Linked DNA regions of Homo sapiens: regions 2, 3 and 4 are each linked to region 1. Evidence: promoter capture Hi-C in human tissues and cell types (Jung and others, 2019). All regions are on one chromosome and are shown on one strand. Each heading gives the region's core, a stretch centred on a gene start or on the middle of the fragment in contact. The rest is flanking DNA. Distances are from core to core; before and after follow the strand shown. Region 1 holds the start of PTX4 (pentraxin 4). Region 2 has its middle 3.2 kb from the start of MEIOB. Region 3 overlaps MEIOB (meiosis specific with OB-fold). Region 4 overlaps MEIOB (meiosis specific with OB-fold).

Region 1 (2,743 bases), core at 67-2,566:
TCTTCACAGGCCGTGTCCTCTGTGCCTCCTCCTCTGTCTCTTGTACCCCTGTCATTGGCTTTAGGGCCACCTGGATAATCCAGGATGGTCTCATCTCAAAATCCTTCATGACATCCGCAGAGACCTTTTCCACATAAGGCCCTGCCTGGGGCTTATGTGTGTTTTTAGGAGGGTCTCATTCAAGCCAGTACACAACCTGTAACCAAAAATACCAGCCTGGCCCACATGGGGCAACCCCGTCTCTACTACAAATACAAAAATTGGCCGGGCGCGGTGGCTCATGCCTGTAATCCCAGCATTTCGGGAGGCTACAGCGGGTGGATCACCTGAGGTCGGGAGTTTGAGACCAGCCTGGCCCACATGGTGAAACCCCGTCTCTACTAAAAATACAAAAATTAGCCGGATGTGGGGGCACATACCTGTAATCCCAGCTACTTGGGAGGCTGAGACAGGAGAATCCGTTAAACCCAGGAGGCGGAGCTTGTGGTGAGCGGAGATCGCACCACTGCACTCCAGCCTGGGTGACAGAGCAAGACTCCGTCAAAAAAATTAATTAATTGGCCAGGCGCAGTGGCTCATGCCTGTAATCCGAACACTTAGGGAGGCTGAGGCAGGCAAATCATGAGGTCAGAAGTTTGAGACCAGCCTGACCAACATAGTGAAACCCCATCTCTACTAAAAATACTAAAATTAGCCGGGCATGGTAAAGCACGCCTGTAATCCCAGCTCCTCAGGAGGCAGGAGGCTGAGGAAGGAGAATCGCTTGAGCCGGGGAGGCAGAGGTTGCAGTGAGCTGAGATTGCGCCATTGCACTCTAGCCTAGGCAACAGAACGAGACTCCATCTCAAATAATAATAATAATTAATTAATTAAGGTGGCTCCCAGTCACATTTCCATTGCTTTACTGAGAGAGACGGGGCCTCCCAGGATGCAGCCGTGCACGGCCTGGGTGATGGGTGCCTGTGCAGACCTGGCTCTGTTGACTCCCCAGCCCCCGTCGGGTTCCCTGTCTTGCTTCGACTTCTCGGGAGCACAAGTCCATGTGCTCCTGTTAAAGCCATCGCCTCCTGCCCGCGGGCTTGCACCCAGCTGAATGATTCTTCAAAGAAACTGTTTGCATCTGTTTTAAGCTTGTCTCCTTAGGAACCTGCAAGTCTCAGAGCCCACTGGCTTGAAGGCAGATGCCTTTCATGGAGGCGGCAGGAAGAACCTGACATCCAGCCAGGGCCAAAGAAGGAAAACCACTCAACAGGAGAGCTGGGGGGACGAGACACAAGACAGACCCACGGAGCCACCTTCACCCTCTCCTGCGGCTGGAGGGAGACTGCTGGGGCCTTGCCGTCTCTCCGGATGGGTTGCTCGTGGAGGAAGACCTTGTCTTTCTTCCTTGTTTTTGTGCCTATATATCTACATGGGGCTTCATCGCAGGAAGCCGCCCCAGTGGGGCCCAGGAAACCGTTTTTCGAGAGGCTCCGTAGGCTGGAGGAACAGGCAAGTTATACCCCTGACATGGCGCAGTCGGGTTTTTAAATTGGCAGCAGATGGAAGACGGATGTTACAGAAGCAGATTGGTAAACATCAGGGCTTGGCGGACACGAACACCGCGTGTGACGCTCTTTCCATCCATGAAGATTATTTCACCTGCAGTTGGACACCAGGGAAGAGCTGAGCTGGGCTCCACTCACACAGGACACAAGCCTCATAACATGTGGGGGTCAGGTGGGGCCAGAGGCTAGAAGGGGGTCTGGAAGGGAGTCAGGGGAACTGGGGGCCATGGGGGCCGGGTAGTGTCATGGGGAGTGGAAACTGGGAGGTCACAGGTCCACCTTGTGGCAGTCGGTGTGAACGGCCTCCCGGACTCCCACGCGGGGTCCACGGACAGTTCCGGAGTGCTGTGGGCCTGTCGGGCCTGCGCTGGGTGCTTCCTGTTTGGGCCTCGTAAAGCACTCATGAGGCCACCCTGCCGTCCCCTGCTCACAGGCAGGAGCTGGAATCACGAGGGAAAGTGACTTGCCGGTGGTTATGGGGTGAGCGGTGGGGATCAGAGCCCCAGCTGTGGGCCTGGAGTCCACACCCCACGTGGTGCAGCTGCATGGCCTGGGGTCAGTCCCTGGCACCCACCACATCTCACGGCATCGCAGTGGGGATCAAATCGGTGGGCAGATAGCCAGTGCTGGCCGTGGCCCGGGCACGCGGCCGCTGCTCCCAACTTGAGAGGGCAAAGCCTTTCCCGTCCCGCCCAGCCGGCCCGGCCCGGCCCGCCCCATCATCACCGTGTCCTCCTTACAGTTCCGGAGATTCCAGGAGGTGACCTGGACACACCTGCAGAACATCGCCAGCAACTACAACGTGTCCTACAACGTTGACGTCCGGTTCCGGAGCCTGGCGGAAGAGAGCCAGGCTGTGGCTCAGGCAGTCAACCGGTCACAGGCCTCGGTGCAGGGGGAGCTGGCGCAGCTCAAGGCCTGGGTGAGGAAGCTGCAGCGCCGAGGCCGGAAAGTAGACACGCGGCTGCGGGCCTTGGACCTCACCCTGGGCGAGAGGAGCCAGCAGCGGGCCCGGGAAAGGAAGGCACACAAGGCCCAGAGGGACGCCCTGCAGGACTCACTGGCACGCCTGGAGGGCCTCGTCCACAGCCAGGGCGCCAGGCTGGCTGCTCTGGAGGGGCGGCTGCCCGTGGCCCACCCTGGCACTGCAGCCCTCGGGCCGGCCCTGGTCCCAACCCCAACCCAGCCTGAGGAGC
Region 2 (2,764 bases), core at 265-2,764, 390 kb before region 1:
TCCAAAGGTCAAAGCCTGTGCCTTGTGTGCTCATGCCCTCTTCTGCTCCCTCTAGTACGGGGTGCCAGACATGCAGCACGCAGGAACCACTCCAGGTCCCTGGGCACGGACTACGGATGCTGAGTTATTTCAAGCCCAGCACGTTACTCACTTCAGCTCAGCACCTCTCACCTTGTCCTGAGGCTTTCAGTTCCAGTTTCAATTCACCGTTCAACCTTTTTTAAAATTTTTATTTATTTATTTATTTTTTTGAGACGGAGTCTTAAAAGAGCTTAGGAGCTGAGCTTTACATACTTGGCAATGCTGCAAATGGCTGGAGCGCAGTGGCGCGATCTCGGCTCACTGCAACCTCCACCTCCCAGGTTCAAGCAATTCTCCTGCTTCAGCCTCTCGAGTAACTGGGATTACGGGCACCTGCCACCACAATACATTTTTGTGTTTTCAGTAGAGACGGGGTTTCGCCACGTTGCCCAGGTAGGTATCCAGCTCCTGACCTCAGGTGATCCGCCCACATTGGCCTCCCAAAGTGCTGGGATTATAGGTGTGAGCCACCACGCCCGGCCTCCAGTAGCTCTTAAATTGCTTCTTTTTGGCCCTAAACACGATTTCCACATCTAGTTCTTCCAGTCCCTTTTGCAGGTTACCTCACTCCTCTTCTCTACATAAACTTCTGCAAAAGTTTACAAAAAATCTGTAAATGTTAGTGTATCTACAACCTATTTATTTATTTATTTATTATTATTATTTTTTCTGAGATGGAGTTTCACTCTTGTTGCCCAGGCTGCAGTGCAATGGCGCAATCTTGGCTCAGTGCAACCTCCGCCTCTCGGGTTCAAGTGATTCTCCTGCCTCAGCCTCCCAAGTAGCTGGGATTACAGGCATGTGCCACCATGCCGGCTAATTTTTGTATTTTTAGTAGAGATGGGGTTTCACCATCTTGGCCAGGCTGGTCTCGAACTCCTGACCTCAGGTGATCCACCCGCCTCAGTCTGTCAAAATGCTAGGATTACAGGGGTGAGCCACCACGCCTGGCCTACAATCTATTTAAAACATGATTAGGCCAGGCACAGTGGTTCATGCCTATAATCCCAGTGCTTTGGGAGGCTGAGGCAGGAAGATTGCTTGAGTCCAGGAGTTCAAGACCAGCTTGGGCAATATAGCGAGACCCCATCTCTACAAAAAAATACAAAACTTAGCCGGCGTGGTGGTGTGCACCTACGGTCCCACGGGAGGCTGAGGTGGGAGGATCACCTGAGCCCAGGGAGGTCGAGGCTGCAGTGAACTGTGATCGTGCCACTGCACTCCAGCCTGGGTGACAGAGTGAGACCCTGTTTTGGGAGAAAAACAAAAAAGATGATCAGTCCTTTGATGGAGTGACGAGTGGGGGTGAGACTAATTATGCCAGTAACTGATCTATTAGTATTTCAGCTCCTGGGAGGAAGACCATAGTCACGGGATCAATGCTGGAAAAGTTATAGTTTTGTTAAATAAATAAAAGCTTATCTTGTAATTCATTAAAATAACTGTCAATTTTTAATGAATTTCTATCTTGTAATTCATTAAAATAACTGTCAACGTTTCTACTGATTAGAACGTGTAAAGTTTATGACTATATATTTTGCCTGTCACTCCTTTGTGACAGCTCCTAGATGTTTTGACAGCTGGCATGCTCTGGGGAGCTGACCATGTAGCCAACTACCGTTTCTTTAGCCAGACATGTGAGCTATTTCAGCTCTGACCCTTGTTCGCTCACCCTTGACTTCTGCATCAAGCGGCAAGGGCAAGCTAGCATTTCTAGTCCTTATTTCTGTTCGTGTACATCCAAAATATATTGACAAGTCAATCCTATTGTTAAGAGCAAGCCAATTTCACAGAACTGCTATAAAAAATGGAAGAAACAAATTCCGTACACAACAAGGGAGACTTAATTTCACGAGCGTGAAGCAATTCCACTCTTTTAGGCTTGTATTTTGAAGCATCGTGGCTTATGAGAAGCCTGTTGTGTCCTGGCAAGGCTGACACTGTTTGCTTAACCTTATGTAGCTTTCTGCAAAAATTAATTTACTAAAACGTGACAAAATTTAAAAAATTTTAGAATATTATTGCTTCACTGAGGCTCAAATGAAAAATGCATGAAAACTATTTTTATATTTTTTCCTCTCCTTTAAGATGGACTTAAAATGCTAGTTTATTTTATTTTGTTATTTTGTGTTTTTTTTTTTGAGACAGAGTCTCTCTCTGTTGCCCAGGCTGGAGTGCAGTGGCCCGATCTTGGTTCAATGCAACCTCCACCTCCTGGGTTCAAGCAATTCTCCTGCCTCAGCCTCCCGAGTAGCTGGGACTAAAGGCGCATGCCACCACGCCTGGCTAATTTTTTGTGTTTTAGTAGAGATGGGGTTTCACCGTGTTGCCCAGGCTGGTGGCCAACTCCTGAGCTCAGGCAATCCGCCCACCTTGGCCTCCCAAAGTGCTGGGATTACAGACGTGAGCCACTGCCCCCGGCCACTAGTTTATTCTTTTGGAAAGATAAAGATAGGTTTTTTTTTTTTGTTTTTTTTTTTTTTTTTTTTTTGAGATGGAGTCTCCATCTGTCACCCAGGCTGGAGTGCAGTGGCGTAATCTTGGCTCACTGCAACCTTTGCCTCCCAGGTTTAAGCGATTCTCCTGCCTCAGCCTCCCGAGTAGCTGGGATTACAGGCTCCCGCCACCATGCCTGGCTAATTTTTGTATTTTTAGTAGAGATGGGGTTTCACCACGTTGGGCC
Region 3 (2,826 bases), core at 171-2,670, 350 kb before region 1:
CACTCTATATTAAATAAAATGTTGGTTAAAGTGCTGTATAAATTATAAAAAATAAGACTATTAAAATAAGACTATTATTAAATTATGTCATCATATTCCTGTAGTCTCACAGATTGAGTCCCTGCTACAGCTTAAAGTCTATCACAGTTGGTAGTTTGAACACACATTAAGCCCTTTTTCATATGTTATACTTTTTTTTTTTTTTGAGACACAGTCTCACTCTGCTCGCTCTGTCACACAGGCTGGAGCACGTGGTGCGATCACAGCTTACTGCAGCCTCAACCTTCCCAGGCTCAAGTGATCCTCCCGCCTCAGCCACCGAGTAGCTGGGACCACAGGTGTGCACCACCACACCTGGCTAATTTTTATATTTTTAGTAGAGACAGGGTTTCACTTTATTGGCCAGGCTGGTCTTGAACTTCAGGCCTCAAGTGATCTACCTGCCTTGGCCTCCCAAAGTGCTGGGATTACAGGCATGAGCCACCTCACCCAGCCCTGCATTAGACATTTTTTTTAGTGGGGGGGGGTGGGGGGGACAGAGTTTCGCTCTAGTTGCCCAAGCTGGAGTGCAATGGCACAATCTCTGCTCACTGCAACCTCTGCCTCCCGGGTTCAAGGGATTCTCCTGCCTCAGCCTTCTGAGTAGCTGGGATAACAGGTGTGTGCCACCATGCCCGGCTAATTTTTTGTATTTTTAGTAGAAATGGGAGTTTCACCATGTTAGCCAGGCTGGTCTCGAACTCCTGACCTCAGGTGATCCACCCGCCTTGGCCTCCCAAAGTGCTGGGATTACAGGCGTGAGCCACTGCACCAGCACCCGGCCACATTAGACTTTTAATCCCAACTTTCCTACCTGAGAGAAATAGCATGAAAAGTGACAAAATTTTTACAAAATCAGTCAGAAGCTGGGCCTGTAAATTAACTGTACTCCGAGACTGGAACTCTTCCCATCATCTTACAGCTCTAATGGAAGTTTATATTAGTATCTGTAAACAAAACTTTCATTGCAGTTCTCTATTCGTGATCATTGATTTTTCAACTTGATATACAAGGGGATTTTAAAAATTAACCTTTTGTCTCTTTTTCTGTTTCTCCTCGCAGTTCGTTCTATCACACAGAGCAAGGAGTGGATTGAAAATTAGTGTACTCTCGTGCAAGCTTGCAGATCCTACTGAGGCAAGCAGAAACTTGTCTGGACAAAAACATGTTTAAAACGGTCTATCATTTTGAACTCTGGAAAAGTATAAGAGTTTTAACTCCCTTTAAAATGGAATATTAATTTGAAAATTATGGGGAAAATTGCATTTTGTTTACATGTGGTGAACATGTTTCTAGAAATTGTTATGGTGGAGGTGGTCTGGGTGAGTCTGAAGGCCTCTCTCATCTGACCTCCCTTCTTAGAAGGCCTCCTACTGTCTTTGCCTTGTCTCCTCCCAAGTTGGAAAATGTTTACATGAATTAATAAACAGATTTAATCTTCTACAGATTTGAATGATTTATTTTCTTTTCCATGTAGTTGAACGGCTTTGAGTGAGTTTCTTAATCCTGAGTGAATGATTTATTTTCTTAAGCCAGTTTATTATTTGTCTTGGTTCCCTGGAAAAAGAGTAGGACCTCAAGGGCTGGGCACGGTGGCTCATGCCTGTAATCCCAGCACTTTGGGATGCCAAGGCAGTCAGGAGATCGAGACCATCCTGGCTAACACAGTGAAACCCCATCTCTACTAAAAATACAAAAAATTAGCTGGGTGTGGTGGCACGTGCCTGTTGTCCCAGCTACTCGGGAGGCTGAGGCAGGAGAATCTCTTGAACCTGGGATGAGGAGGTTGTAGTGAGCTGAGATCCAGCCACTGCACTCCAGCCTGGGCGACAGAGCGAGACTCTGTCTTAAAAAAAAAAAAAAAAAAAAAAAAAGTACCTCTAAAGACTACTTTCTGAGAGCTGGGTGGTGACTCGTCATCTGACAGATCTGACAGGATGAGGGCAAGGGGCTCTTGGTGCTGGGTGGGAATAGCCAAAGTCGTGGGCAATCCTGTGCGACTGCTTTGAGCACCTGGGGCTCTTCTAGTCCCTGGTCTTCTCTGGTGACACACTGGAGTGCCCAGTGCTTGTGGAGGCTTGCTGGCTCAGGGCTGACATGACTGAGTCTGAATCAACTGGGAGGAGACCAACTTCAAAAGGTTCATGAGCATGCCTGGGTCTCAGAACTCTGAGGGGGACCTACTCAGGACATGAGGACGACAGCTGCCACTTTATCTGTTTGCTTTGCAGCAGCCACAAAGTAAACGGCTCAACTGCACACCATTGAGAGTCACTTGCTTCAGGGCGCAGACTCCAGCTGTGAAGACCCACCGCTAAGGTCAGTGTTGACCCACGGCCTGGGAGGTTTGACCTGGTACTTTAGAAGGCTACATGCCCTCCACCACAGGATTGAAAAAAAAGGAAAAAGTGAGTATATGAAACTGTTTCCTAAGGCTGGTGTTGGGAGATAAACCATCGTCAGTCATGTTTTATCTGGCTTTTACCATGTGCAGCCACAGAGGAGGGATGCAGGTTCACCCCTAAGTGTCCAAATTGTGGTGATAAGGTAATGAACGACTTGACCTAGTTGTGCAGAACAGGCCTTCCATCCTCCCTTGGGGAGAACTGGGGGGTTTGTGAAGCCAGGTGAATGGGGAGGGTGGACAGGGAAGGAAGGAGAGGAGAGAAGTGAGGGTGTCGTGGTTGGTGCTGGCTTGGCTCCCACTGTTGGTTCAGCAAGAGTGGGTATGGTGCCCCCTCCACTGAGCCCCGTGTCCAGGAGCTCAGGAGAAGCCACCTTACTCGG
Region 4 (2,700 bases), core at 94-2,593, 360 kb before region 1:
GAATGTTGAGTTGTTATGGATACCACCTTAAAATGAGGTCTTTAGATGGCATGGAATTGCTTAGGGGGACTCCACCGTGCCCAGTTTTATTATTGAATTCTGTCGTGTAACAAATGATGTTTTATTAGGTCCCATGGAACAAGCCAGAGTTTCCCTCTGTGCTTCCTGGGAAGTATCCTGGAGCAGGGCAGGACACAGGGGCACGTGGGCCAGGGTGGGGACTGCACCCTGAAGCACTGCCAGGTACAACAAGGCATTGTCTAGACCTCTGATGCCTGGGTACCAAAGGAACTGATTTCAAAAATGTCTTCAACCCATCAAGGCCCCTGAGCAGTTTATCCACTGGGGGACACTCACCTTCATGGTCTGAAAGTGTGAGTTTAAAGTCTTCAGGCTTTAGTTCTAACTAGCCTGGAGTGATTAAGTGTTGGAAAAATAAATTAAGAATTGGCAGAGCAGAGTATTACTAGAGGAGAGTGTGTGTTGAAGGAATGTTCTCTCATGGAGTTGTTAAATTCTCCCTAGGAGGAAGCTGGCATGCTTAAGACTAGGAGGTCTTTGACCACCTTGGGGATGGCTGACCCCAGCCACTGAAGCTTTCTTTTATTGTTGTAAATAATATGTCACTATCAGTTTTTTCTAGTGTATTCAATTTGTATTACTTCTTTTTAAACAAATGCAGTTGGGATAATGAATCCATTCTACTTGCACAGAGCTGGATGCCACGAGAAACAGGTATTATCATTCAATGATTGTGTCCAATATTTGTCATTTATATCCTCCCATGTAATAATTTTAAATGGCTTTTTTCCCAAACAGTAATATTTGCCTCAGATGTAAGAATAAATTTTGACAAATTTCGGAACTGCATGACAGCAACTGTAATCTCAAAAACCATTATTACAACTAATCCAGGTAAAAAACTTTGTGAAACCTTTTATCCCTTTGGAAATGACTGAACACATTTCAATATTTATACAGTATATTTAAGAATGAAAATTCAGCCTGGATTTAATTCAAATTAGAAGTAAAAATTGCTTTATATAACTTTTTTAAAAACTTACAATGAACTTTGATATCTTTACTAAAGAAATGTGAGGTCGGACGTGGTGGCTCATGCCTGTAATCCCAGCACTTTGGGAGGCCAAGGCAGGTGGATCACCTGAGGTCAGGAGTTCAAGACCAGACTGGCCAACATGGTGAAACCCAGTCTCTACTAAAAATATAAAAATTAGCTGGGCTTGGTGGTGGGCGCCTGTAATCCCAGCTACTCGGGAGACTGAGGCAGGAGAATCACTTGAACCCAGGAGGCAGAAATTGCAGTGAGCTGAAATCGCGCCATTGTACTCCAGCCTAGGCCACAAGAGCAAGACCCCGTCTTAAAAAAAAAACAAGGCTGGCGCGGTGGCTCACACCTGTAATTCCAGCACTTTGGGAGGCCAAGGTGGGCTGCTCACGAGGTCAAGAGATTGAGACCATCCTGGCCAACATGGTGAAACCCTGTTTCTACTAAAAATAGAAAAATTAGCCGAGCGTAAAAGTGTGCGCCTGTAGTACCAGCTACTCGGGAAGCTAAGGCAGGAGAATCACTTCAACCCAGGAGGTGGAGGTTGCAGTGAGCCGAGATTGCACCACTGCGCTCCAGCCTGGCGACAGAGCGAGACTCCGTCTCAAAAAAAAAAAAAAAAAAAAAAAAAAAGTGAAAAACCAGATTAATTTTAAAGTATAATTCATTGTGATAATTTTTGAGAGATCGATTTTATTGCTTGGATGCTAAATTATTGACTAATAGGTAAATTCAGTTTTGCTACATTCAAATAACTTTTACTGCTAGGACATTGATAACACATGCATGCGTGCACACAGTACTCTCTGTGTAGTATCATTAGCTCATAACTGCACATTAAATGCCCAGATGATCCCCTGGAGTGGTTGTTGAAGGAGTTACAGTTTATTACAGCATGAAATCAAGGAAGCCAGATTGGGGAGATGAGGGATTAGTGCCTGTGAGCATTCCCAGGGTGCTTTATAGTGCAGACATAACCGTCAAGCCAGTACTGCTAAAGAAATGGAGTAATCAATCCTTTGCCATCTCATGAAGCTATGAGTACAGTATGTAGTGTATCATTTAAAACATACGCTCACGCTGCTGGTCTGTAACAAAGCATCAGCAGTGACAGAATTATAAAGCAATGTGTGCTTTTGACCAAACCATTATCAGCATTTTTAAAAGATAGAATTACTATGAGGAATGGTGTAAAATACTGAGACTCTGGTTTTTATATGAGTACTCTGAATCTTGCACATCCAACACATGGATGTTGTCTCCTTGAAGGCAGCACCATGGGAGGAGATGTGCATGCCCCGAATTGCTCTTCACTGAACTAATTTACTGAGCATGTGCTGTATGCTGGGTGCTGTTCTGGGGTGCAACGACAAAATGGATAAATATTTCCACCCTCATGGAGTTTACCCTCCAGCAGGGAGAGACAGAGAATAAATAATGAAGATAATATGTCCGTGAATTATGAAATATTTAAGGAGAACAGGTGGAACAGAGTCAGGAGGACCTAGAGAGCCACAAGGTGGTCGGGCACGCTGCATGGGAGAGTGACGTTTGAGCAAAGACTTGATGAGGAGGCTAAAGGGATAACCAAGGGAAAGCCCTGTGCCTATGTGTGGGAGGAACACCCAGGGGCT

Evidence for each region. The method cuts DNA at HindIII sites, captures the fragments that hold promoters and counts their contacts. A contact is called where the count stands out against the background at its distance.
Region 2: a contact is called between a fragment that was not itself captured here and the fragment with the promoter of PTX4 in region 1, in 2 of the 25 tissues and cell types used here (dorsolateral prefrontal cortex and spleen).
Region 3: a contact is called between a fragment that was not itself captured here and the fragment with the promoter of PTX4 in region 1, in 3 of the 25 tissues and cell types used here (dorsolateral prefrontal cortex, lymphoblastoid cells and spleen).
Region 4: a fragment that was not itself captured here is called in contact with the fragment with the promoter of PTX4 in region 1 in 4 of the 25 tissues and cell types used here (dorsolateral prefrontal cortex, lymphoblastoid cells, spleen and 1 more).

The regions. Positions count from the first base shown.
Region 1 is chr16:1,487,517-1,490,259 of GRCh38, reverse strand. PTX4 (pentraxin 4) reads left to right here and starts at 1,316. Exons shown (of 3, transcript NM_001328608.2): 1 at 1,316-1,491; 2 at 2,290-2,743. The coding sequence starts at 1,351. The HindIII fragment of the contact is 5,905 bases long and covers 1-1,947 here.
Region 2 is chr16:1,873,978-1,876,741 of GRCh38, reverse strand. No RefSeq gene overlaps it. Among named protein-coding and RNA genes, the nearest start is that of MEIOB, 3.2 kb to the right of the region's middle. The HindIII fragment of the contact is 5,420 bases long and covers 1-2,764 here.
Region 3 is chr16:1,832,642-1,835,467 of GRCh38, reverse strand. MEIOB (meiosis specific with OB-fold) reads left to right here. Exons shown (of 14, transcript NM_001163560.3): 14 at 1,102-1,482. The coding sequence ends at 1,212. It also overlaps a transcript of FAHD1 not described here. Among named protein-coding and RNA genes, the nearest start is that of FAHD1, 6.8 kb to the right of the region's middle. RefSeq lists a silencer at 2,326-2,620. The HindIII fragment of the contact is 8,140 bases long and covers 1-2,826 here.
Region 4 is chr16:1,851,254-1,853,953 of GRCh38, reverse strand. MEIOB (meiosis specific with OB-fold) reads left to right here. Exons shown (of 14, transcript NM_001163560.3): 8 at 683-735; 9 at 820-915. Among named protein-coding and RNA genes, the nearest start is that of MEIOB, 20 kb to the left of the region's middle. The HindIII fragment of the contact is 5,559 bases long and covers 1-2,700 here.